7 separate regions of the Homo sapiens genome follow, and regions 1, 2, 3, 4, 6 and 7 are each linked to region 5. The links are contacts of gene promoters, found by promoter capture Hi-C in blood cells and fetal thymus (Javierre and others, 2016). All regions are on one chromosome and are shown on one strand. The core of a region is centred on a gene start or on the middle of the fragment in contact, and the rest is flanking DNA. Distances in the headings are between cores, read along the strand shown. Region 1 overlaps FRYL (FRY like transcription coactivator). Region 2 overlaps FRYL (FRY like transcription coactivator). Region 3 overlaps CORIN (corin, serine peptidase). Region 4 overlaps FRYL (FRY like transcription coactivator). Region 5 holds the start of TXK (TXK tyrosine kinase). Region 6 has its middle 18 kb from the start of SLC10A4. Region 7 overlaps FRYL (FRY like transcription coactivator).

Region 1 (3,507 bases), core at 1,008-3,507, 390 kb after region 5:
CCCATTGGATCTTTGAATCTGTCCCGGCTGTTTCTGAAGATATCTTGGAAGCCCTAGGGCCCTGCATGTCAGAGTTTGAAAACCACCTTCCTGGAACATATCATTTCAAATATTATTATGTACCAAAACACATAATGGCAACAGCACTCAATATATATTTGGTGAGTGAATGAATATGCACTGTGGGCTTTCAAAGTGAGGAGATATTTTATTATAATTTTCATTAGTGGTTAAGTTTGTTTTGTAGCAATCAAAGTATTTCCTATTACCATGTTTTAAACAAGACTATATCCAGGTTTTAGAAAATGTGTATCGCTGATTTGGCGTAATTATGAGGGATAAATTAGCGTGCTCCACCCCACCCCTGATTACTGTGACTTGAATTAAAGACAGAACTACAAATGAACATCCTTAGTCCATTCTAAGGTTCTATTAAAAGCCATGTTTATTACCACTGACATTTTAGAGCACTGAATGAACTTGAAAGCATTTACAGTTCTCTTTAAACAAGAGGCAAACAAAAAGAAAAATAACCTTACCATTACAAAAATGTCAAGAGCTGCCTTTAGAAATTTAAATTCTGGACTGAAAAAAGCAACTAACTACAGAAGAGTTTAGAAGCTGCTCCTGGCCTTGGGTAGGGCAGCAGGTCTCTTTAACCTATTCCACTCCGTTACTTGGTTGTGCAAGTCTGTTCTATTTCCTACAATATATTTTTTCAAATGATGAGTGTGAAACTAATTTTAGGGTGGTAACCTACACTTTTTGAAAAAAAAAAAAAAAGAATGAAAAGGAAGAGAATAGAAAATATCAGTATGCACAGCATAGAGTTTGGATGCATATTCTTGCAACTTTTATTTTTAAAGGTATATATATATATATATATATATATATATATATACACACACTTGGATGTGATGTAAAATGTATTAACTGTGGATTAGTGTCAAAAAAAAGTTTAAAAGCTACTGCTCTGAAAGGTGCTAAATAATACCTGTTCTTGAGTTCCTATGAACCTGTACAATTGTGTCTTTGGGAAAATGTAAATGGTGGAGTATTCCATAGGAGCCTACACAGCTCCTAAACTGACATGAAGGCATTTGCATTACTTGGAGGCACCATGGTCACATCCTCACATCTGCAGGGGGCACTGAGGCATGTTGAGGAGAGGGAACTTTACTTCCTCAAACTGGTCTTCCATGGACAATGAACAGTGTGATACGGGAGAGTGCATTACATTTCATTCCTCCGCCTCACCTATTAGAGCCAAAGGAAACACCCCTACAAGAAGAGCTGATGAATGTGTATAAGCTGTATATGAGTTGTATATGTATATGTACATGAGAGTTGATCAGTGTGTATGATCTGTATGAGTTGTATATGTATATGTATACGAGAGCTGATGAATGTGTATGAGCTGTATATGAGTTGTATATGTATATGTACATGAGAGTTGATGGATGTGTATGATCTGTATGAGTTGTATATGTATACGAGAGCTGATGAATGTGTATGAGCTGTATATGAGTAGTATATGTACATGAGAGTTGATGAATGTGTATGAGCTGTATATGAGTAGTATATGTATATATGTACATGAGTTGATGAATGTGTATGAGCTGTATATGAGTAGTATATGTATATGTACATGAGAGTTGATGAATGTGTATGAGCTGTATATGAGTTGTATATGTGTATGTATATGAGAGCTGATGAATGTGTATGAGCTGTATATTAGTAGTACATGTATATGTACATGAGAGTTGATGAATGTGTATGAGCTGTATATGAGTTGTATATGTGTATGTATATGAGCTGATGAATGTGTATGAGCTGTATATGAATAGTATATGTATATGTATATGAGAGCTAAATGTATTTGAGCTATGAGTTTTGATTCTTTAGAAAAAGATACATCAAGATATGGTATACAGATACTTGGTATTAAGGCATTTTGGTCTTCTTGCATACAGATATTTGTAGCAATTTCAAAATGTACATGTTTAAAACAAATCTATTTGATATAAACTTTCAGGGTTAAGAGACTGTGGTTTAGGGAACTGAGCTCAGCTACAGAAATGGATCTCTAATAGCCTAAGACAACCAGGGTAATCCTATTCTATTCACTAGAGTGGTTGTTTCAGAAAGTAGCATGTGTCCTAATTTGGGCCAATGAGATGTTACAAGAAGTTTGCTAAGACCATTTAGGAAAGCAGCTTCCTTACTTTTCTGAGAGCATTTCTGGATGTGACCCTCACCTCCTTCAAACACTGCTGTGTGTGGGGCTAAGATTACCCAGCAATGAAGACGGTTTTGCTGCTATCTGAGGTCAAGCTGACTGGCAGAGAAGGGGAGAGCCTAGAGAACTGCAGATAAACAGCCAGAAACTTCATTGAGCCATATCTAAATATAAGCTCTAATTCTGGACTAGTTTTGTGGGCTAATAAATCTACTTTCTGAGTTTTAAATTCCATTTAGAAAGCATCTCAACTGACATAACTACCAATATAATGTAATCCAGACTAAATCAATTTAGAAGAGAAACGCTTTGAGTATTAAATGAAACCAGGCATTTGAGAGAGTTACCTACATCATAAAGAAGAAAGTGATTTCGAATGTCAAAGAAAGAAGCTCAGTCATTTGCCAAAGGGAAGAGTTCTAGAAAGACAAACCCTTTGTGATATGTCAATTTAGTGGTAAGTGTGTATATGAGTAGTATATGTATATGTACATGAGAATTGATGAATGTGTATGAGCTGTATATGAGTAGTATATGTATATGTACATGAGAGTTGATGAATGTGCAATTTAGTGGTAAGTGCAACTCTCTTTAAAGTTGTCCTTAATCAATTCTCATATAAATTTTTACCATTTGGCTGCATATTAGTTTGTAAGACAAATCATGCAAAACATTTAAGTCTAAGCATACCCTGAAAATAATTTTGAAGGAAGCCATTTTTTAATTTTATATTTTTAAAGATAAAGATGAAAAATGGAATGTTTCTCTTTTATCTCAGACTTATTCTATTGACTAATTGTGGTAATCAAATTTAATTCCTAATTTAGATTTTTACCTTTTTGACCTTACACTGACCTCAATAAGGAATGATCCTGTGATCAAATCCTTAATTCTCATACAACTGTTCTATAAATATTAACAGAGAAAGCCCACATCCTTACCTCTGCATCTTCCAATTCAACATCTAAAAAGTCAAAATCCTTAAAAACACCAAACTGTTGTTCACTGCTATTATCTTCCACAGCTACTTCTTCCTCTTGATTTATGTCTTCTGTTGTAGAAATTAGGCTAGTCTGTTGGTCACCGACTTCCAAATCCTCATTAGAAGAAAATACAACCTGATGCCCGATTAAAAAAAAAAAAAAAGTCCATCCATCAGATTTGTCACTCTGCGTATGAGGTATCAGTACCCCAAAGCCACCGCAGGCCTCATTCTTCAATGAATTCACAGCTTAAATTTGGTCTTCATGTTTAACTAGTTGAACACA
Region 2 (3,873 bases), core at 843-3,342, 430 kb after region 5:
CCTTTTGGCTTCCCTGGGCCATATCAGAAGAATTGTCTTGTGTCACACATAAAATACACTAAAAACAGCTGATGAACTAAAAAAAAAAAAAAAATCCATGCATAATTTTTGTAATATCCACCACCACAGATAAGCAAAAAGGTCCTCACATTCAAAGGGTTAGACACGGCTGCATTTGAGCTTAAGAAAAGAAAATACAGTCAACCCTCTGTGGATCAAAAATATGAGGGAAAGGCCAAGCGCGGCAGGTCATGCCTGAAATCCCAGCACTTTGGGAAGCCAAAGTGAGAGGCCAGGAGTTCAAGACCATCCTGGGCAACATACGTAGTGAGACCTCGTCGCTACAAAGAATTTAAAAATTAGCCAGGCATGGTAGTGGGAGCCTACAGTCCTGGCTACTCGGGAGGTTGAGGTGGGAGGATCACTTGAGCCTAGGAGTTTGAGGTTACAGTGAACTATGATCATGCCACTGCACTCTAGCCTGGGTGACAGCGAGACCATGTCTAAAAAAAAAAAAAAAGGAGTATACGGGAGGATTTGCATAGAGTAAATACAAATACTACAGCATTTTATATAGAAGGCTAGAGCATCCATGGATTTTGGGATCTGAGAGGGGTCCTGGAACCAATCCCCCACAGATACTGAAGGACAACTAAACTGGTGTCTTCCTATTTTTGAATTCAAAAGAAAAACTTTTCTTTAAGAAAACAGAACAAAATGAAACAAAAAACCTGTATCTAAAGTACCTGTTCTGGAAAACATTAGCAATGGCTTTAAAGCAGCCGGCCGCCACCCTCCCGGAGCCCGTGTAGCAGCGGTCCACAGCCCAGTACATCAGGTTGCTCTGATCAGGGTTCAGCTCCAGTAACAACGTAACTGCTTCACAGCCCAGCTGGTGAACCTAGGTAAAGGTTGTGAAATTGCCCGAGAGAGAACGTTATATATTTTTTGTCTATTTCCCTATAGTTCTTACTAAAGTAATATAGTGCATATATTCATTGTAATTAATAGAAAAATTCCATCTCCTTTTGTTCACCTCCCTCTCATTTTATTCAGCCAGCAGAAAAAACCACACAGATGAACTGAATTTGGCCTCTCGCTTTTTACGCGAGCCTCTCTAGTATGATTTTGTCTTCCAACAGAGCCCTGAAGGCAGTTAATGAATATGAATAGTGATTAGGTGCTTTCAGAAAAATGAGTCATTAACCTCTCCAATTATTTTTATCAAGCTTTATTCTTGTTTTTGATAACCCAATAGAAAAACTGTTCTGAGGGGAAAAAATGTAAGTCCTATTTTAAATTGTGAAGTCTGTATATGTACAATATGAGAGTAAGGAAGGCAGAGTGTGGAGGGCAAGGAGGAATGATTAAATGGAAAGTGGTTAAAAAAACGAAATGAAACATAGCAAATAACATATTTTTCCCATGCAGCTCAATATGTTCTATGCTGGTATTTTATTTATTGACTTAGAACCCTGTTGAGAGACACATACCACTGTATTAATCCTATAATATAAAAAGGGAAATGAAAATTATTCAAATTAATGATACATAAGAATTGGAACGTTTTTACATTATGGGATCCTATTTAACTTTATATAATATGCTTTTTGCATATGATCCTAACCTATCTTATTTTTTTAAAAGACTTGTTTTTAGTGCAACATACATTAACTGCAAATAATACAATGACAACTTATTATGAACCTTTAAGGAAATTGTCATAATTACCTTTTTGTCCAGAGAATCCAAAATGTTATCCAACCATTTGTACAAATAGCCATCTGATGAAAGTCCTACATTATCTGCAACAGGGCCACAACACAGTACAGCAGACATAGCCTTCAAATAATAATATTAGAATTACATTTAACAAATTTAAGAGGTTAAATGTTGGTTGCTTAATGAGAAGAGGCAAAATACTTATCTAGTCACAATACTTTAATCTTTTTTCTTTACAAATTATTTTTTAAAACTGAGAAATTTATTATGAGTAAGTAAATATGATACCAAATTAGACATGGAGTTTGAACAGTACTGGAAGGGAAGATAAAAAGACCAAGAAAAAGTAATTAAGTAAGGGAAAAAAGGCATTTCTTTCAAGTAATCCTAAGTTCTTTAAGATAATGGTGATCAAATTTGAGTAGATTCTGGAACTGTTTTTCATTGTATTTTATGTATTTAAATATAACTTATGGTATAAGTTTTGAATATGGCAGAAAAACATTTTAATACTCTCAGATCCTCTTTTTAATACTAGTGACTGAGAGACTTAAAAATACTTAACTCTGCTCTTAAGAAAAAAGAAATCAGGTTTCTAAGTAAATACCTTTAACGCACAGTATTGATGTCTATTAATTTGCATATTTCTATCACTGTATCTGTCCAAGGGCGTAAACATGATGCTAAAAGGACCTGCCCAGTGACTGAACAGCATAAATAGACTGTGACGAAGGCTCTGTTGAGGAAAAATACTTCTTCTCTGGTGCACTGTGAATAAAAAAAGATAGAAAACATTTATTTCCATTTCTTTTTGCTTTAACTTTTATACCAACATGTTATTGAATGTGTAATAGTGTAAAAAAGAAAGCAGAAGTTTTCATTTTAAACTATCAAAAACCTCCGCGGTAGCAGGGATCATTTATATATATGCAAATCACAGAAACAAAGTTGCAGTCTGTGTCACCCTGTCCCAGCATTACATGACATAGAGCATCTCTGCAAGCAGAAATTCCATGGCAGGCTCAATGGCACATGAAGGCTGGCACAGAGGTGGGGCCAGGAGTCCATTTCTCCCTGGGCTATCACTGGCTATATGGTAAGATTGGCCAAGATTTTAACACAGACACACCTCTGTATCTTGGTTCACTGGTAAGTAAGGGCTTTGGACGAGATACGTGTTTTCAAACTTTCTATTTTTTTTTTTCAGCAGGAAAGCTGCCTTTTCCTGCTAAAGGAAGCTTACATGTAATCTCAGTATATAAAACAGATAAAAGGGCAGTTCAGGCCTAGTGTCCAAACACATTCTGCTGCTTTCTGCGGATGGCATCAGAGAACCTCAGGGCTTTGAGAAACACCAAAGTTTGAAAACCACTGGTTTAAATGATCTCCAAGGATTTTTTTCCCCCATTTTGAAATTCTACTATATAATTTCTCTACATCTATCCTTCTTGAAGAAACTCAGCAGTATCACAATAAACCAATGTGGAAGTTGTAAAAAAGTGTTTAGTAATAGACTAAACCACATCTTTATATTAGTGAGCTTCAGATCAGAAAATTTCGAAAAAAATATGCTCTTTTCCTTTGACAGTGTCATTTTCCTTTCAAAGATGAAAACAAGGCTCCTACAGTTGAAATTGACATATGTAATTAAGTGCTTAATGACCCTGTTATAAAATACAACCCATGTTCTTTAGGTATCCACTGTCTGTATATACTATTCAAAATAACAATGTGACTTTAATTTTTCAAAGAGAAAAAGAAACACTTATAGTGTATGCCAAAGGCTAGTCACATTACTTCTTACAGTTGTAAATAATTTAACTTTTAAAAATGTAATTGTGTATATTAATCTTCCTAGTATCTAAACCAGTATCTGTCGATATAGACCCTACTCAATAATTGGAACATATCTGGTAAATCAGTAACACGGTATCCTTGTTACATTTTGTATTTATGGCCTATACTCTTTTCCCATTATTCAAAAGTATCTTCTTAATTTTATTCTCAATTATCATGAGACACTGCACTCTGCTTATTGCATCTAAAACAAGGCTATCCTAAAGAGCTTATTCTATTGATTTCTCCAGGTTTTTGTGTCAGTATCCTGATTATTACTGAAATTCTATGCTGGGTTGCTTTTTTATTTCTAAT
Region 3 (3,674 bases), core at 1,064-3,563, 460 kb before region 5:
GATAGTGGTAAACATCTTCAAGTAATGAACCATATTTTCAAATGTATGAAGGATTTTCTGAGATGCCACTTGTTTGTCCTTACAGAGACCTAAGTATGCATATATCATCTTGAAGTTCTTTGAAAGATCAGGAATAACATCTTGACTTTCAACTGCAAGTTAGGCACATACGCCTTATTTTTTATTTATTTATTTTTTTATTGAGACGGAATCTCGATCTCTCACCCAGGCTGGAGTGCAGTGGCACGGTCTCAGCTCACTGCAACCTCCACCTCCTGGATTCATGCCATTCTCCTGCCTCAGCCTCTTGAGTAGCTGGGACTACAGGCGCCCGCCACCATGCCCGGCTAATTTTTTTTTTTGTATTTTTAGTACAGACTGGGTATCACCATGTTAGCCAGGATGGTCTCAATCTCCTGACCTCATGATCCACCCGCCTCGGCCTCCCAAAGTGCTGGGATTACAGGCGTGAGCCACCGCGCCCGGCCTATGTGCCATTTTTAATAACACAGGAGTAATGAGGGCAAGTGGCTAGCCTAGTGGCTTTTACTCAGAAGAGAGCAGGTGCAAACGTTTGCTGAATATATGTGGAGAGAAGTTGGCAAGAATATACATGATGAATGAGGAAGCTGGTGACACAGTGAGACACTAGGTAAACTGAGTGTATTTAAAGAGCTTAAAGAGAACAACAGTGTAGAATATATCAGTGGGAAGATGACAATATGTTCTCCCACACTGAAAAGTGACTTCTAAGAAGCTAGAAGCCTGTCTCCTTTCTCCACCACTAGAAAGCCCAGCGCCCATCCCGATGCTTGGAACATCATGTACACACTACAAATATTGGTCAGCTCTATGAGCCAAGAGTTATCCAGTTGCCTTTCCTACAATTTATTCTTTTGACAGGAGACAACATATTTTAAATATTTAAAATTCGAAATATTTCAAATATAGAGAAAATAGGATAACATACACCCAGTCACTTCCTACCCAAATTTGACACAGGCTAACATTGCCTTTTCTACATTTTTGAGTCTAATAGTAAGTGTCATTCCATGTCAAACAACCCCCAAAACTTTAATAGTAAACACATGTCTTTGAGATGACACTGTCACTATTTAAGTTGAAGGTGAAGTAAGGAAATCGCTCTGAAAAATTTCCACGGCAGATTGAGAGACGAGTAAAATGAAACAATGGAAACAGTGGCCCAAATATGTTATACGTGTGTGTGTGTGTGTATATATATACACACATATATACACATATATATGCATATCTATAGATATGTTCTATTTAAATCAGTTTCTATTTAAATCAGTTTAGAGGAAGTAAAATGGCAGTTTGAGTGTGTTGACTTTGTGGCTTGACTAATATCTACTGTTCTCTCATATGGGAAATGGAGGAGGGGTGGGCATGTGCTTCCAGGCAAAGAGTTATTAAATGCCACAGTCAATCCTGTCAGTCTGGGTTAATTAGCTGCCTGCCTACACCCCCTTCCCAGCCTCCTTTTTTCACCCCCTTGAGACTCTGTAACAGTTATAGAGGTACTCACTATAAGCTCTACAGTGACCCAGAAAAATTAGGACCGCGAAACTGCAGCAAATGCAAGGCCGAAGACTTTCAGCATCCCAGCTTCCAAGGGCCTTAGACTGAGAGGACATGTGTTAAGAAGTAATACCCTGGCTGGGTGCAGTGGCTCGCGCCTGTAAGGCCAGTGGATTACTTGAGGTCAGGAGTTTGAGACCTGCCTGACCAACATGGTGAAACGCCATCTTTACCAAAAAATAAATAAATAAATAAATAAATAAATAAATAAATAAATAAATAAATTAGCTGGGTGTGGTGGTGTGTGCCTATAATCCCAGCTACTTGGGAGGCTGAGGCAGGAGAATCGCTTGAACCTGGGAGGCGGAGGTTGCAGTGAGCCGATATCGTGCCACTGCACTCCAGCCTGGGTGACAGAGCCAGACTCTGTCTCAGAAAAAAAAAAAAAAGGAATATCCTCTTGCCAACTGAAAACTGACTGACCTGCTTTTAAATTTCTAATCCCAACCTGAAAATGCAGCAAAAAGTTCATTAGAAAAAGTGAAAGAAGCGAGTATAACATGAAAACAGAGCCCAGGAGTCAGAAATCATTACTAGAAATCAGTCGCTGGGGATTTTCTGATTCCATTTTCCATGAGAGTCCATAGGGTGCTCTTTCACTTCCGCCCATTCTGTCTTCCCCAAATAACTCCTCCTCCTGAAAGTCATTTTAGAGCCACCTGCTTACACCGTTTGGAGCTGTTACACTGTCACCGAAACAAATTAGCCTAATGGTTCCGAAACCATTACAGGTCATCAGAGTTCCTGGAAAGGCGAGAATAAATTTCATTAAAAGAACCGACTGCCTATAATCCCAGCACTTTGGGAGGCCCAGGCAGATGGATCACTGAGGGTGTTTAGCGCCTGTAATCCTAGCTACTGTGGAGGCTGAGGCAGAAGAATCACTTGAATTTGGAAGGCAGAGGTTGCAGTGAGCCAAGATGGGGCCACTGCACTCCAGCCTCGGTGACAGAGTGAGAGTGTGTCTCAAAAAAAACAGAACAGATTGCCAAAGTTGTATGTGGCTATTTCTATGAACTTCATATTTGCTTCTTGGTTAAAGTTTCCATTTTTGAAGCTATGCTTTAAAAAGGAAGAAAGATAGCATCTGCCTACAGATGGAGCCAAGAAAATAATACAGAGAACTAATGCTGAGTTGAAAGTAATGGTAATGATATTAAGCAATGTGGACTTATAGGCGTTCGCAATGACACATTTGTTTCTGATTGAAGTTAATTAAGACCATTTGGTTTCTTTACTGCTACCACATGCGACCTTTTAAAAAGAAAAAGAAAATAGGTAGGCTTTTTTGGAGGGATTCCAGACTTCAGTATTTGAATGTCAATGCAGAAGAAAAATGCTGAATGCATGCCCTGACATGGCTATTGCATTTGTCAGCTGTTGTACTTACTACAGTTATTCAGACTGTTGTTCGGGTCACAGAGAGAGCTACCACCACATGAATCAAGGCAGGGATTGTAGAGGCATCTTTGGTCTCCTTCTTGACATGAAGTCTGAACTACAGAGGGAGGAAAAGGCACATTGGCTTTCATCATCTACAAATTCCTTACCTAAGGATCTAAAAGATCAGGAATGTCTGATGGAGCTGAGGAATAACACAACTTTAATTTCCTTCCAATTTCTCCAAAAGTATTGAACGTACGTTGAATAGGTGCTTTCTGGATTCATTTTCCTGGTAATTAAATACAATCCAGGTATTCCAAAATAGGAATGAAGAAATAAGAGACAAACTACACTAAAAACAGGTGGTTGTTGCATTTAATGGGAAAAAAATAGTGTTTTCTTTTTACATGGGTGCCAACACTTGATTACAAAATAAAATTCAAGAGATTTGAGGGACAGAGAACGTTATAAAAATCTTGAAATTCTGAATATTAAGTGACACTTTTTTAAGACTCATTTGCTCCCAATTCTAGTCTCCCTCTAAGGAAAATGCTTTCTCTAGTAATAAATAGGGCATCAACACCAATACAATAAGGATACTTTACCATAATACAAGTGTTATGCAGCTGTTATCCATATTTTCAATATGTCCTTGGAAAGTGTCATCAGCCTAGCTGTGATGACTTGAG
Region 4 (3,330 bases), core at 831-3,330, 410 kb after region 5:
TCGTCATGAATACCTAAAACATGAAAGAATCTCACAAAATACCTATAGAATTAAACTGTTGTTCCTTAGACTCTATGGGACACATGAGGCAATCTGTCAGTGCAAGGTGATGTGAATCAGTGCTCCTGCTGATCCTCATGAACACCAAATTACAGCAAGTAAGTTTTGGGGCAAACATTGTTTCACAGCTTGAAAACTTAGCAATTTGGATGTACTATGCAGTCCTCTGCCGCCATCTGCTGAAGAAACTTGCAAGTGGCAGTTTCCTAATATTCTGGCATATTTTGTCAACATCGCTTGTCAGTCACATTTCTATAATATGAACTGATTTTTAACTTTTTATAGAAAATTTTCTATAATTTTTGATCCATTTCCATTGCAGAAAGGCTCATCTATCTGAAATACACATAGTGCATCAATCATTTTTTAAAAAACTGTTAAAGGTTATTACTAATGCCCATATTTACAAATTGGTAAGAGAAGCCTTAAAAACAAACAAGCTATGGAATTTTGAATAATGGTGCCTTAATATAAAAAGGCAGTAAACTTCATTCCATTTTTCTTTTAATCATAGTTTTAAAAGGCTAATAAGTTTCCTAATAATTGTTTCCTAACTATAGGATTTTAAATAAATAACAGGGTTTTAACTAACTTTAAAATTGATGAACCCTGTATCTGACACTGTATGATTAGAAAAAAAAAAGGTAATTTTATTGCAATTTTGAAAAAAAAGTTTCTAGATCACTTGTTATTAGCCTGATGGTACTGATGAATGAAAGAAATGTTAGTTATAGGATATAAGAAAATATACCTTAAAAGTAAAAAACAAAAATTAACATTGACAGTGAAATAAACCATATTAAGTCTCATTAACTTGGACTTCACTACTTCAAAATGTATGTTTTTAATGCAGTAAATATAATCACGAGAATAACAAAATTTAAAATGCCTTACTTTATCAGTTTTCAGATCCTGCAAATAAGAGGAATCTAATACAAGCTCAACATCTTTTTCGTAATTCGTCCTCAATAAATTAAGCAGTTTCATTATGTCTTCAACTTACATATTCCTAAGTTAAATCTCGATAAAGATCGTTCGAGGTAATGCAGACTCAAATATTTTAAATTTAATCCCTTCTTTTATTAGCAAATAATTTAAATGGTACTTAAAATAATACAACTACATTTTTAAAATGTTCTCTAGTATTTCAACTTTTATTCAGTTGACTTTCTCTAATGCAGGATTCCAAATTAATAAAGTATAATTCTACTTTCAAATTGTACATTTAAAGCAAATACCTGTGAAATTATAATCTAAGTGTGCAACTTGTTTGACTGTAAGCACCCTGGGCTCATTAAACTCCTTGTTCCTGAGAAGGACAGAAGCAACAGTTCGGATGTTACTATTGGGTCCCATTACTATTAATAAGTGCAGAAGCAGGCGTTTACAATGTTCATACACCTCAGGGTGGCAGTGGTCAAACCCTAAAAAGGATAGTAGAGAAACATTATCAATAAAGAGAAATAATGAGTATTCTTACTACCAAACTCACATTTTGAAGAAAAGGAGAAATTATATGAAAGATTTCATGGAAGGTGACATATTATATGGTTTTTTATTGCCCTAGAGTTCTTATATACTTTTACAATAGCCTACTGTCTTATAGTACTAGGGAGACTCAAGGTAAGCTAAATGTGTTTCATGTCTAAAATTTAGTGATCTCTTAAAAATTATTTCTGTTACATAACATAAAAAAATTCATGGAAATGAATTTTTTTTTTTAAAGGCAGGGTTTTTTGTGTGCTTAGCACATAACAGAAAGTACATGATTAACTGAAGGAATGATGTAATACACCAACATTAAGTGTGCCCATCAGGAAAACTTATAAGGAGATGGCTATCTGGACTTGCTTCAGGAAGCCAATCCTATAAGCATCAAATGTATTATAGATATGGTAGATCCCACATGTTTGCTACAGAAGGCACGATGGAGTTTCAGGTATAATAATGAGGCTATCCAACAACCCAGTTCTTTTGGGAAATACTTAGAACCTATCTCAACTTTTCATTCACTCTGAAAGTTTCCAATCCCAGAGTTAAGTTAATTTGACTCTTGCCACAGCCACAGAATTTTTCCTTGGTATAGTATATGTGTGTTTGTGTGTGGGCAGGCGAGGCCATAAGATAGGAATAGGAATGGGGGTAATAGACATGTTTGTTTGTGGTTAGAAGAGGGGCCAGACATAACTCCCCAAGAGACCAGAGGAATCATAGTGAAAAGTGTCATGGAAATAACATAAAAATAACAGGAAACAGAAACACATAAAAACTGTCATAAAACCATACTGCTTTTAAATTATCATAAAAATATAACATGAAAGAATTAGAACCAAATATTTATTACCTATAAAAATTGCATGAAGAAGAAGATGGAGGTAGCTTCCCCATTCCACCTTCACACTATGATCAATGATGAGATCAGTCAAAAGGATCACTGCTATGTTACACCTATGACAAATAAGAGTTTCATTAACGTTTTACTAGATCTCAGTAAACCTAGAGAGAATTTGGTACAAAATTACTTGAAGACTTTAATATCACATTTCATGGAAAAATACAACTTATCAAGGAAAAAGGAGGAAAAACAAATACAGCTGAAGAAAACGTTAACCATTAAGTTAAAGAGATGGAACAGAACATAAGGGCTAAGGGTTCCTTGAACTCAGGAGCCACATTTTCTTCATCTTTCAACCTTGAGACTTAGCACACTGCTTGCCACAGTAGGTGTTCAATACATGTTTGGTGCATTAATACATTTTGAAAGAATGCAGTAATTGCTCTATTGTGATTTTGCTAAGTAGAATTCAATTTAACTCGATGCAAAATAATAGTGCCTACCATAGGAAAGTCATATTTTTCAGATGTAGTAACTGGGTCCCAGAAAGGTCAAGTAACTATGCCAGACACCCAGAAAAGCAGCAGCAGAATTAGATTTAATAATATTAATTTTATAAAGTTAGAATTCTGAGTTTTTTAGATTTCTTAGAATCTAAACACATTGATCTGTGTTGCAGTATCTCCATAAAGAAGATTGCTTTCATTCTGTGTTGTCAGATAGCACAAAGAAAGCCGACAGTGTTCAGCAGCAACTTGGTGCATATGTAAAAGGAATGACGCTGTAGTCCACCTGTGAAGAGGTAATCCAGGTGATGACGTTTCAGGCACGTAATCCACCAGTGGTGACCAGCAGCCTCCAGCTGGTGGGAAGGGCAGTGGCTCTCCTTGGTTATGCTCCATCACTTTCAGTCGCCAATTAGAATAAAGTGGCAT
Region 5 (3,820 bases), core at 616-3,115:
AAGTTCTTAAAGCACCTCTCAGGTTTATTGTTTCTTTATATTTTGTTGCAAGGTGGGCAAAAAGGGAGTGGCCTGGGCTAAAGTTCTAGTTCTGATTTCGTCCAGCATTTGTGGATCACAGTTGGCAGCTTTATATGTATACAAATATACACATACACACACTCCCTTTGAGAGCTTATTTATACATATAAACTCATTTATATATGTGTGTATGTGTGTGTGTATATATATTTAAGGCAAAAGGAAGAGCACTTAAATCCCGAGTCTGGCAAGTCTCATGCTTGGCCGCGTGTGGTGGCTCATGCCTGTAATCCCAGCACTTTGGGAGGCTGAGGCAAATCACTTGAGGTCAGGAGTTTGAGACCAACCTGGCCAACATGGTGAAACCCTGTCTCTACTACAAATAGAAAAACTAGCCAGGCATGGTGGCATGCGCCTGTAGTCCCAGCTACTCGGGAGGCTGAGGCAGGAGAACCACTTGAACCCAGGAGGTGGAGGTTGCAGTGAGCTGAGATCGTGCCACTGCACTCCAGCCTGGGTGACAGAGCAAGACTCTGTCTAAAAAAAAAAAAAAAGTCTCATACTTAAATCCTGCGTCTGACAACCATATGAGTTTCTGGCAAGATTTAAACTTTCAAAGGCACAATTTTCTTATTGGCTAGATAAGAATAACAATTTTCACCTTGCCAGTTTGTAGTGAAGATTTCAGATAATGAATATAAAGGAACTGGTATAGACCATGGCCCATAGTAGGTGCTCAATAAATACCTTTATAAAGAAACAAACACATTGCAATTCTGATATGACGGCTGCCTTCTTATTTAGAAGACTATTCTGCTTGGTTTTTTTTTTTATTCTAATTTCTTTGGATTTATAAGCATCCCCCACAGCTCTTTCAAACCAAGGATCTTCACAGATAACAGTGTCTAGGGAATCTTTCTCTGTTCTCCTAAAACAAGCACTTATTTTTAATGATGGTCTTATATTCTATAAAAATATTAAAATAACATCTTCATATGTAGTATTATATATGAGGGAAAGAGACATTTGAGCCAGTGTTCACACTTGACCATGTTCACACTTTTAACCAGGTAGAGACTCGTGACTTTGACTCTTATTTTGGCCTTTACTCAGGCTCTGACTGCAGATAAGAATCAGTTTTGCCTAAATTTCAATTGCTTGGGAAAGGTCCTCGATAACGGAAGTCTACATAGAATTGTGAATAAATACCCCTGTGAAAATAAAGGTTAAGTCTATATGTTTACTTGATAAAGCAGATAATTTCAGAGTATAAACACAGTTGTGTTTTGACTTCTCTTCCTTTTGCCTTAAATATAGATATTTATTTGTGTGTGTGTGTATGTGTGTGTATTTATATATATATAAAGTTGCCCACTGTGATCCACCACTGCTGGAGCAAATCCAGAACTAGAACTTGGTCTCCTGGCCTTCAGCCCAGAGCTCATTACAGTCTCATTCTAAAAACAAGTACTTCATACTGATTGCATTTCTACACACACATATGCAGATTTCTGGACACTCTTTCTGTTTTTCTTTCATTTATGTTCTCAATGCTGAACCTTTATTAGAATTACATCATCACTGTGGTTCTTTAAATAAGAAACAAAACTCTGTCACAACATCTGAGGAAATTATCTTTTAATGTCCCCAAGCTCTATGCCTTGGAAAAAAAAAACTTCCTCTGCTGTTCAAGAATAACAGGCCCCAGAACAAGCCCCAAAAATAAATGACAAAGCCCATCTTACTCACAGGAGGAAAGGATCATGGTAGCCCCTTCTGCGGGGAGCACACAACAGTCTTCAGTTCTTCTGCGGTGCTCTACTCACAAAAACACATCTTTCAACTGAAATCATAGTTCGCTCAAGATGTTTCTCACGGGCAGAGTTAACCCCACCTATTTTCCTGTTCTGAAAACCTCAGAAGAGTATAAATGACAACCAATGGCATATATAAGAAAGCTCAGTAATCTCCATCCCAATCTCTGAGGGTATCTGCTATTAGTCTCTCATCCCCAAAGGTGTGGGTGACTCGCAAACATCATTTTCAAGAAATCACAAAATTTTGGTAAAAGGCACCTTTAAAATTATCAAATCAAACTGCCCTCTCTGGACTGGGAAGGAAATGAAGGCACAGACAGAATAAGGGACTTGCCCAAGGCCACACCGTGAGTGGCAGAAACAATTAGATTCTAGGCTCTGGAATATTGAGTTTAGAATGTTCCATCCTCCCACTCAGCAGACACTTTATTTGGGGGAAGTCAATCTAGTAATAACCCTAAAATGTGATTGGGGGATGGCTGAGAAATATAAAAACACCAACAATACAAAACACACTTGGGAGTTTCACTTCATCCCACTGGAAAGCATAACCATGTGTCAACTAATTAACAGAGCAACTTTAATGAAGACACAGCATATTCTAATCGCCCTTCCAATTTCCTGGTTTAGATTAAGGTCTCCTTAGCATTCTGGGTGATGACTGTTATTTTTACTTCACCTTTTGCCTTTGTTATGCTTTCGTATAAAACTTTTTTTCTAAGTCTTAGTGAAAAATATTTAAAGATTTTTGAAGGAAATGTTGACAAATGTTGCCAGGTGCTATCTATCTTGTTTTCCCATAAAAAGCATACACTGACCATTAGGACAGGGACTCTATCTTCTCCTCACTCTCTTTCATACCACCTAGTACTTCCCGTAGCTCCTCAAGGTGAAAAGGGAAGTATGGGATGGGAGGAGGGAAGGTCAGGAAGGAAGGAGAAAAGGCTGACAGTGATAGTAAGGTAGAGTGTGCCAGGACCGACTCCTTCAATGAGCTACAAGTCAGTTAAAAGTTGTGCATGGTTAGCAACCAAAATGCCCATCAATGATAGGCTGGATAAAGAAAATGTGGTACATATACACCGTGGAATATTATGCAGCTATACAGAATGAAATCATGTCCTTTGCAGGGACATGGATGGAACTGGAAGCCGTTATCCTTAGCAAAGTAATGCAGGAACAGAAAACCAAACACCACATGTTCTCACTTATAAGTGGGAACTGAACCATGAAACACATGGACACAGGGAGGGGAACAACACATACTGGGGCCTGTTGGGGAGGGCAGATGAGGGGAGAGCATCAGGAAAAATAGCTAATGCATGCCAGGCTAATATCAGGAAATATATATATCAGGCTAATATCAGGAAAAATAGCTAATGCATACCTAGGTGATGAGTTTTTGATAGGTGCAGCAAACCACCATGGCACACGTTCACCTATGTAACAAAACTGCACATCCTGCACATGTACCCTGGAATGTAAAAAAAAAGTTGTGCCTGTTTTTGTGATGGGGGTACAGTTAAACAGGTAGACAAGAAGGAATGTGGCAGATTGTGATAAGGCTCGGGATAAGCAGTTTACTTTCTTCCATTATGAGGGGCACAGGAAAAGAATAAACACAGCCTTCAGTGGATGGACTGCCTGGTGCACAGACTCTAGACTGACCAGGATGAAATGAAATGGTTCTCCAGGGTCAGAGTGAAGGCGCTGCCCAGAGCAGCCAGCCTGTGTGTTCACCCAATGCTCCAGAGCAGACCATCGTGGCCTGCAGAGGAGACGCAACTCCTGAAGGGAAGGCGCTGTGTCTTCCTCGGCTAGTTACCCCACCAACAGCAAGAATAACGTGTTGGGCAATAAACGGTCTCTGGATGACTGATACAGTTTCTTTTCGCTGGCGCTCACGTGACCGAGATAGTTTCTTTTCCTTGGCGCTCACAAGGCAAAAAGGAAGGCCCTAATTCCGTTGATGTCTTAGTAGA
Region 6 (3,777 bases), core at 399-2,898, 330 kb after region 5:
GATGGTTTGAAAGGCATCAAGGGTGGTCTGGCTGGGCCATTTTATTAGGGGGTCTTCAGTGTCATTATCTTTTGATCACAGCTTGTAGGTTCTGAAAACCAAGTGGAAGGAAAGAAGCTATGGAAAGCACAGTATCCTGCTTGCACACGTTCACCTATTCTTCTGCTTACCGTATTTGTGCCCTCAACTCTTCCTGATATCCCCCAGTGCAGAGACTCTTTTACCTTCTCCAGAGAAGAAACCTCCCATCGAGAGGAGCATCTTAGTCAGTTCTGGCTGCTGCTACCAAGTAGTATAGACTGGGTGGCTTATGAACAATTGAAATGTATATCTCACAGTTCTGGGTGCCAGTATAAATTGGCTGTGGTGAGGGCTTTCTTCTGGGTTGCAGAATATTGTCTTTTCACTGCATCCGCACATGGCAGAAAGAGTGAGAGAGCTCTCTGGGATCCCTTTTAAGGGCACTAATCCTATTCATGAGGGCTCCACCCTCATGACCTAATCATCCCCTCAAAAGCCCTACCTTGTAATACTATCATATTGGTGTTAAGATTTTAACATATGAATTTTGGGGGAACATAAACATTCAGTCCATAACAGGGAAGTTGTACAGACACATAAACTGGAGTGTAGAACTGGACATTTAACAACCTCTACTTCTTCTTTTACTCCTCTCCCCCTACTCCCACACTTGAACCTCTTCTCCTCCTTTGAAAACAGGTTTTATTGAGATATAACTTACATACTGAGAAATCCACAAACCTTAAGGGTGGACCTAACAAAGTGCATCGTTAACAAACCTCCTGATGTTGGCCTATCCTTTGCCCCATCTTCCTCAAGTACATGGTGCTGTACATTCTTGAGCCATTGGGAATTTTGGGATGTAAATGGAGTTACTGGTGTAGTCAAACCCCAGTCTGGGTGACAGTTGGGCTGGCTGTCATTACTAATTCTCTCAGGAGACATTTCTGTTTTCTCTTTTTCTTCCCTAGCACCTAGGCTGAGATGAACAAGATACATTTTTATGTGCTTTGCCTTCGCTAAGGCACAGATACTTTTTCCTCTCCTACCTTTGTGAGGAGGCTGTGGCCCTTCAAGGCTCTGGCTTTATGTGGGCAGTCCCACTTCCTACTCCCCACCTGTGTATGCCCTGGGTTCTGTCTCTTGTGCCCTGTCTTTGCTTACCCCCATCGCAGCCTCTCTCCAGGGTTCTGGGTTCCTAGTATTGGCAGATGCTACATTCCTGGTTTTCAAAGACTATTTATTGTATTTAATTCAGCAGTTTTGGTGTTTTGTAGCTGGAGAATTTTTCAGAATATCTAGTCTGAGGTATTGCCAGGAACAATTAATCTTGTTAAATCCTATTCATCTTAAAAGGCTCAACTCAAAGGTCACCTCTTATGTAAAAGCTCTCTGTCCTTCTCCTGGAGGAGTTAGCCTTTCTTCCTCTAATGAAAGAAAGCTTCCACAGGCCCTGGTGACATCCCCACTCCAGGGCCGTCACTCACTTAAAAAGTTGCCTTAACTGTGTCCTTAGGGATCTGTCTCCACCACCAGTTAGGAGCTGCTCAAGGCAGGCACTTTAGGATGCATCTCTTATCTTCTACATTTAGTCCAGTGCCTACCACTGGGGTGTGGTGGGTGGGGGGAGGGAGAGGGGAAGAGACAATTCTAAATACTCACGGAATTAAAAGAAAGTAATTGATAATGCACTAATGCCATGGTTCAAGTTCTGCCGAGGCTCGCTCCCAGTCATGTGTGTTATGAGATACTCAATATACACACATTCAATACAAACACGTATTGGATGCCTTCATTCTGTCCCTGAAACTTGCCAAGCTTCTTCCCATTTCAAGGTCTTTGCAATTGTTTTCTTTCTGCTTGGAATGCCCTTCCCCTGGAAGTTCACATGGCTACCACCTTCCTCTTAGGTAGGTCCCAACTCAAATGCTGCCTTCAGAGACAGGGCTCTCCTAACCACCCCCACCCATGCCCAGCCAGGTTATCCAAATATTCTCTTCCTCATAGCATATGATTATAGAATCACTTAAAGTTAGCTTATTTTTAAAAACGTAATGCAATCTACATACTAGTATTCTCAGAATCTAGGATGATGCCACATGATAAATATTCAGTAAATAATTTGTGGACTGACTGCCTAATATGAATAGGTGCAAAGGATTTTTAAAAAATGAATATGGGGCCCTGGTAGGTTCACAAAGTTCAACTGCTGAAGACAGATCTTCTTTCAGACCACTTTTGAGATTTTTCTATGGCTGTGGTAGACAACTCGTAACATCTGCCTTTTTCTAGGCCAAAGTTTTCTAAGTTATCCTCTGGAACTCTGGGGATCTCACTCATCATGGAACCATGAGTTGGAGTGGGTTCAGCCTGTTTTCTAGGTAAAGTCCTGCCTTCGTCTGTAGGTAGTGCCGGCTTTGGTTCTCCTCAACAGTGTTACAGAGTGGGGTGGAATTCCTTCCAGATGGGACTTTGGCTCTGTTTGCCTTAAAGCATGTCCACCCCCCGCCCCCCACCAACTGCTTCTGCCTGTCCTTCCATCCTGTACTAGGTAGAAGGGAGGCATGAGATGTAGATAAGGGAGAACACACTTAGTTGGGATTTAGAAAAATGAGGTGGTACAAGGTGCCAGGGAGTTAGAAGAGAGGGTAGGGCTAAGAAGTGGGATAAAGGGAGAAAAAAAAAAGTGCAAAGGCCTCAGAAATAACTTGGGCCTATTTGGATAAGTAGGGTCAATTTTGCCTACAGTTAGCTTGAAAAAAAAAAATGCAGTTTCTCTTGACTTATCTTGGCAGGAAAGCTTGTGTGAAAATGGGGTAAGGGGGCCAAGCAGGGTCACTGACACTTGTAATCCCAACACTTTGGGAGACCGAGATGGGCAGATCCCTTAGCCCAGGAGTTCAAGACCAGCCTAGGCAACATGGTGAAACCCTGTCTCTACAAAAATTAGCTGGGTATGGTGGCACGCAGCTGTAGTCCCAGCTAATCTGGAGGCTGAGGTGGGAGGATTGATTTGAGCTCCGGAGGCGGAGGTTGCAGTGAGCTAAGATTGCATCACTGCACTCCAGTCTGGGCGACAGAATGAGACCCCATCTCAAAAATAAATAAATAAATAAACAAACAAATAAAAAAATAAATAAAAAATAAAAGAAAGTTGGGCAAGGAAGGGGGTGCAAGATGACAATTTTTTTTTTGTCCTGGGACATGAGCTTCTTAGCTGACAAGGAATATGGTGAAGCAGAGCATAGATTTCTCCTTCAGTTCTAACACTGCAGTCATTCTAAATCTCTGTAGCCCAGTGGAAATGTGCACCCTTCCTGTCTGCACCCCAGCCTTCCAACCATACTCCCACTTAGCTCTACATGCTAAGTGTGTCTCTTTGGAAATGGTTCTGACCACATCCAGCCATGTGTGCACATGGCTTCCAGCAGGGCCCCTTCCTTCAGCTCTAGAGTACCAAGAGTTTGTTAAAAATGCTAGTCCTCCTTCAGAGATTCTGATTCAGTAGACTCAATGATGGGTCCAGGTATCTGCATTTTAAACTAGCACCACAGGGATTCTGATACAGGCAATTTGTAAATGACTCTTTTATAAAATTGGTAGTTAGATTTACTAAATATTTCTATAAGCTAAGTGTGGTGCTAATCCCTTTAGATGCATTATCTTAATCCACACAAGAGCTCATCCAGTTATAGCTGAGGACACAGGCTGAGACGTCAGCTAGAACTTGTAAACGATGAATCCTGGCCTTAAAAA
Region 7 (3,565 bases), core at 666-3,165, 370 kb after region 5:
ATTATGCAAAAGACAAGACTGGTACACAAGGACAGATCAAATTGCATAAAAAGCGTCTTCCACCCTCAAAACAGTTGAATATGAAAGGTGAGCTGAAATATAAATGAAAGTGTTAAATGTTCAGTTTCCACTTCGTAGAAAACCTCAAGCTATGTTAACTGACTTGATCTTAAGATGGATATAATTTTCTTCAAGGTAGAGGGGATATAAAAAAATCACTTAATATAAACACCTAGTTTTTGTAGGAAAAAAGGTTACATTACTTGCCGAAGTGATGCAGTTAAACAGTGGCAAAGACAGACAGAATTAGAACCAAAGGATTCTGGTCTAGGGTTAATTCCTTATCTTCATTTCTTTACATAGATGACTTAGCAGTTTCTTTTTAACATTAGTGCAGGATTTGGAGTCAGCCTGCCTAGGTTTCAATCTTGGTTTCACTATTTGCTGATTTTAGATAAATTAGCATCTCTGAACCTCAGTTTCCTCATCTTCAAAACCAGGATAATTAGAGCAACTACTTGCCTGAGTTGTAAGGATAAAGAAACTATAGAGGCTGGCAAATAGTTAACACTTAGCGAGTATACTATTATTTTCTCAACACTGCAGTTTTTGCAGAACTTCAATTTTTTACTATAATAAATAGTATAACCTAATAATAGTATAACCTTTACAGACACTAGAAATCTGTAATAATATAACCAAAGGTAGAATATAAAAGACTGGAATTCTGATGTCAAATGGAAATAAATTTCAGTTGATGAATGTATTTTCCCCTGTGAAGCTACACTTCCATTGGAATAATTTGTAGGCCCTAACTTATCCTCACTTACTACAATGTATGTGTTTATGTATGTGCACCTTTCTAAGAAAATATAATGCTGTTGTTTTCACTGAGCCTTATATTAAAGAAAAACATTATAATTTATCCAATTCTAATTTTACCTTTAACATGGATATATTATATCACATTATTCTTAGGTTTGCTTTCTTGACCAATTTATCTAACAGAATAGCAGAATACTAACATGGGACAAATTTTTCTTTAAGAGGCACATGCAACTTAAAAGCCGACCTGGACTGTCCAGATATCCATCAAGCTTATCTATTGGATGTTATTAAGCTTCAGTCACAAGCTGGTCGTTCATTTTTATTAAAGTGAATTTTTCATTATGAAACCAGTATTTCATTGAGCTTTTACAAAGATTGTTTTGATAACCAAAATGAAAAGTTTTACAAATATTCTTTATTTTTAGAAATAATCAAATAAGGATATTTGAACACATGCATTGTTTTACCTGATACAGAAAATGTATGTTGCAAAAACAGGAACAAGAAACTTACTTGTGCATCTGTGTTTATCCTATACATGTCTTCTTTGGCACCAAATGTCCTCTTACAATCATCTAGCCACTAAAAATAAGTAACAGTAACGTTTAATATGCACAGTAAAATGGGTAGTGTAACAGCCTGTCCATATACAACACCAAACTTAAAGTTAACTTGAAGTTCTAGGATTGGTTGTAGACCTAGACTTTTATCTCCATTCAAGCCAAATCAATCATTTATATGGAACTAACAAAAGCAGGGATAGCATTAATGTAACAAGAGGCACACACTTGTGACAGCTATACTAACAAAACCCATTCCATTCTAGGGACCTGTGATGTTCCATTTCAGTAAAGGATATTCTTCATTTTGCAGGTTTTATGAAAATCTTTACAACCTATGCCTGACCTTTGTGTAACGTAAGACGGGGAAAGGAAAGATGTGCTTCCCCTCTGATCAATTTAATAAAGACAACTTAGAATTAAGTAGGTCTGTTTGCTTATGAGAAGTGTAATTCTCAGAAGACTAGTGTCAGTTTTAAATTTGTGAACCGGCAATCAAGATCCATTTTAAGTCTTGTTTTGTTTTTCTTTTCTTTCTTTTTGGACAGTAATGAATGACAAACAAACATGTTATTTATTTCCAAACAATACTGGATGTAGAAGCCAAATGTGGTTTTTCCTTCTCTGGGGGTATTCCTAATGTTGATATAAAAGTACAGGCTGGGTGTGGTGGCTCCTGCCTGTAATCCCAGAGCTTTGGGAGGCTGAGCGGGGAGGACTGCTAGAGGGCAGGAGTTCAAGACCATCCTGGGCAACATAGGGAGACCCTGTCTCTAAAAACATAAAATAAAAAAAAAGGAATACTTCAAAAATAAAGTACATTTTCTTCAGCAAAATATAAATAAAACAATAGCACCGTGGTATAGTAGAAAAGAAAGAACGCTGGACTCACAGAATTTCCAAGCTGAAGTAAAAGCTAAGTGCATTCCAGGTAAGCTCCTAGCTTTGGACAGTTTGATATTATCAGTTGTTTTGACTTCTAAGTTCTTTTTTTTAAATTATACTATTAAACAATACAACTAATATATATATATATATATATATATATATATATATATATATATATATATATATATGAAATCATTAGGACTTTGAGAAACAGACTAGCTGCATTAAGCAGCTACTCTGAAAGTATTTTAGTATTCGACATTTAACATTCTCTATTGTAGCTTATGTTGTACCCACAAAGAAAGAATTGAAATTTGACATTTCAGTTATTTCAAAAATGATCTCTTTGACCTTATTTTCCTTTTATTCCAGTCTCTCAGATTTCACCGGCCCTTAGGCTATTTGCTTGACAGCATCTCTGAAGAAAAACATGTTAAGCTTTTCTAGTGAGATACAGCTGATGGCAGCCATTGTCAAAAGCTATCAGTGGATTTCTTTGTATCAGCAAAATGCAGTTGACATCTAACATGGAACCTGTGCATTAATCTTTATTCATACAAAATGTTAAAATATTTATACACTTAATTATGCCTTATCTTGTCCAGTTTGTCCAAGTATACTAATAAATTTGAAAATAATTTCAGTTGATTATTTATTTAATGGCTTATTTTTATACTGTGTACCTAATGATACAGCCTTTTGGGGGGCACTATTCAAAATATTGCTGATTTTTATTCTGTTAAAAGACAAACCCCAACCATATAGTCCTGTGGCTGCACACTGGCCTGAGAGATACAGGTCCACACCTTTCCAGCCAGAGCATACAAGACATGGTAGTTTGTGCTCAGAACACCCTCCAGTTCACATCTAATCAATCAGTCTTCCTGTCACGGCATTTTCTTTATTCAAGGTTCAAATGAAGGTTAAAATTTTTAACTGTCGAGGTTCTACTTCTGGGTGTGATGGAGTAGCCTGTATAAAAGAAAGAAAGACCAATCCTGCAAGGACAATGATGGAAGCTGAATCCTATCGGCCAAAACTCACTCAAACAAACAGTTAGTTAGTTAGAGAAAAGTACCGGAGTGAGCCCAATACCCGCCCCAGTGCTTACTCTACTCTAGGTGTATTCATATTCACGTCCCTGCGCATAGAGGCTGAACAGAAAGCAGTGGCCTAGAGTTTATGCCCTACAGTTTCACTGGGCTGGGAAAACAGTTTTCAAAGATAGATAGATGATAGATAGATAGATAGATAGATCGTGAGATATTGAGGGCCAATATCCTGGAGAA

Evidence for each region. The method cuts DNA at HindIII sites, captures the fragments that hold promoters and counts their contacts. A CHiCAGO score of 5 or more calls a contact.
Region 1: a contact is called between a fragment that was not itself captured here and the fragment with the promoter of TXK in region 5, in 2 of 17 cell types (erythroblasts and megakaryocytes). The highest score is 8.8, in erythroblasts.
Region 2: a fragment that was not itself captured here is called in contact with the fragment with the promoter of TXK in region 5 in 1 of 17 cell types (megakaryocytes); the score reaches 6.1 in megakaryocytes.
Region 3: a fragment that was not itself captured here is called in contact with the fragment with the promoter of TXK in region 5 in 1 of 17 cell types (naive B cells); the score reaches 6.3 in naive B cells.
Region 4: a contact is called between a fragment that was not itself captured here and the fragment with the promoter of TXK in region 5, in 3 of 17 cell types (megakaryocytes, erythroblasts and fetal thymus). The highest score is 10.1, in megakaryocytes.
Region 6: a fragment that was not itself captured here is called in contact with the fragment with the promoter of TXK in region 5 in 1 of 17 cell types (erythroblasts); the score reaches 5.4 in erythroblasts.
Region 7: a contact is called between a fragment that was not itself captured here and the fragment with the promoter of TXK in region 5, in 2 of 17 cell types (erythroblasts and megakaryocytes). The highest score is 11.9, in erythroblasts.

The regions. Positions count from the first base shown.
Region 1 is chr4:48,524,297-48,527,803 of GRCh38, forward strand. It overlaps FRYL (FRY like transcription coactivator), which reads right to left. Exons shown (of 64, transcript NM_015030.2): 53 at 3,181-3,357. Among named protein-coding and RNA genes, the nearest start is that of ZAR1, 36 kb to the left of the region's middle. The HindIII fragment of the contact is 5,857 bases long and covers 1-3,507 here.
Region 2 is chr4:48,563,202-48,567,074 of GRCh38, forward strand. FRYL (FRY like transcription coactivator) reads right to left here. Exons shown (of 64, transcript NM_015030.2): 29 at 2,330-2,490; 30 at 1,732-1,842; 31 at 747-901. Among named protein-coding and RNA genes, the nearest start is that of ZAR1, 75 kb to the left of the region's middle. The HindIII fragment of the contact is 1,731 bases long and covers 1,228-2,958 here.
Region 3 is chr4:47,671,401-47,675,074 of GRCh38, forward strand. It overlaps CORIN (corin, serine peptidase), which reads right to left. Exons shown (of 22, transcript NM_006587.4): 10 at 2,993-3,100. Among named protein-coding and RNA genes, the nearest start is that of MIR8053, 21 kb to the left of the region's middle. The HindIII fragment of the contact is 5,425 bases long and covers 1-3,674 here.
Region 4 is chr4:48,546,286-48,549,615 of GRCh38, forward strand. FRYL (FRY like transcription coactivator) reads right to left here. Exons shown (of 64, transcript NM_015030.2): 39 at 3,188-3,330; 40 at 2,405-2,508; 41 at 1,299-1,484. Among named protein-coding and RNA genes, the nearest start is that of ZAR1, 58 kb to the left of the region's middle. The HindIII fragment of the contact is 5,569 bases long and covers 1-3,330 here.
Region 5 is chr4:48,132,385-48,136,204 of GRCh38, forward strand. It overlaps TXK (TXK tyrosine kinase), which reads right to left and starts at 1,866. Exons shown (of 15, transcript NM_003328.3): 1 at 1,771-1,866. The coding sequence starts at 1,786. It overlaps TEC (tec protein tyrosine kinase), which reads right to left. Exons shown (of 18, transcript NM_003215.3): 18 at 3,399-3,820. RefSeq lists a silencer at 1,308-1,602. The HindIII fragment of the contact is 7,086 bases long and covers 1-3,820 here.
Region 6 is chr4:48,463,192-48,466,968 of GRCh38, forward strand. No RefSeq gene overlaps it. Among named protein-coding and RNA genes, the nearest start is that of SLC10A4, 18 kb to the right of the region's middle. The HindIII fragment of the contact is 377 bases long and covers 1,461-1,837 here.
Region 7 is chr4:48,504,206-48,507,770 of GRCh38, forward strand. FRYL (FRY like transcription coactivator) reads right to left here. Exons shown (of 64, transcript NM_015030.2): 60 at 1,342-1,410. Among named protein-coding and RNA genes, the nearest start is that of ZAR1, 16 kb to the left of the region's middle. The HindIII fragment of the contact is 1,594 bases long and covers 1,119-2,712 here.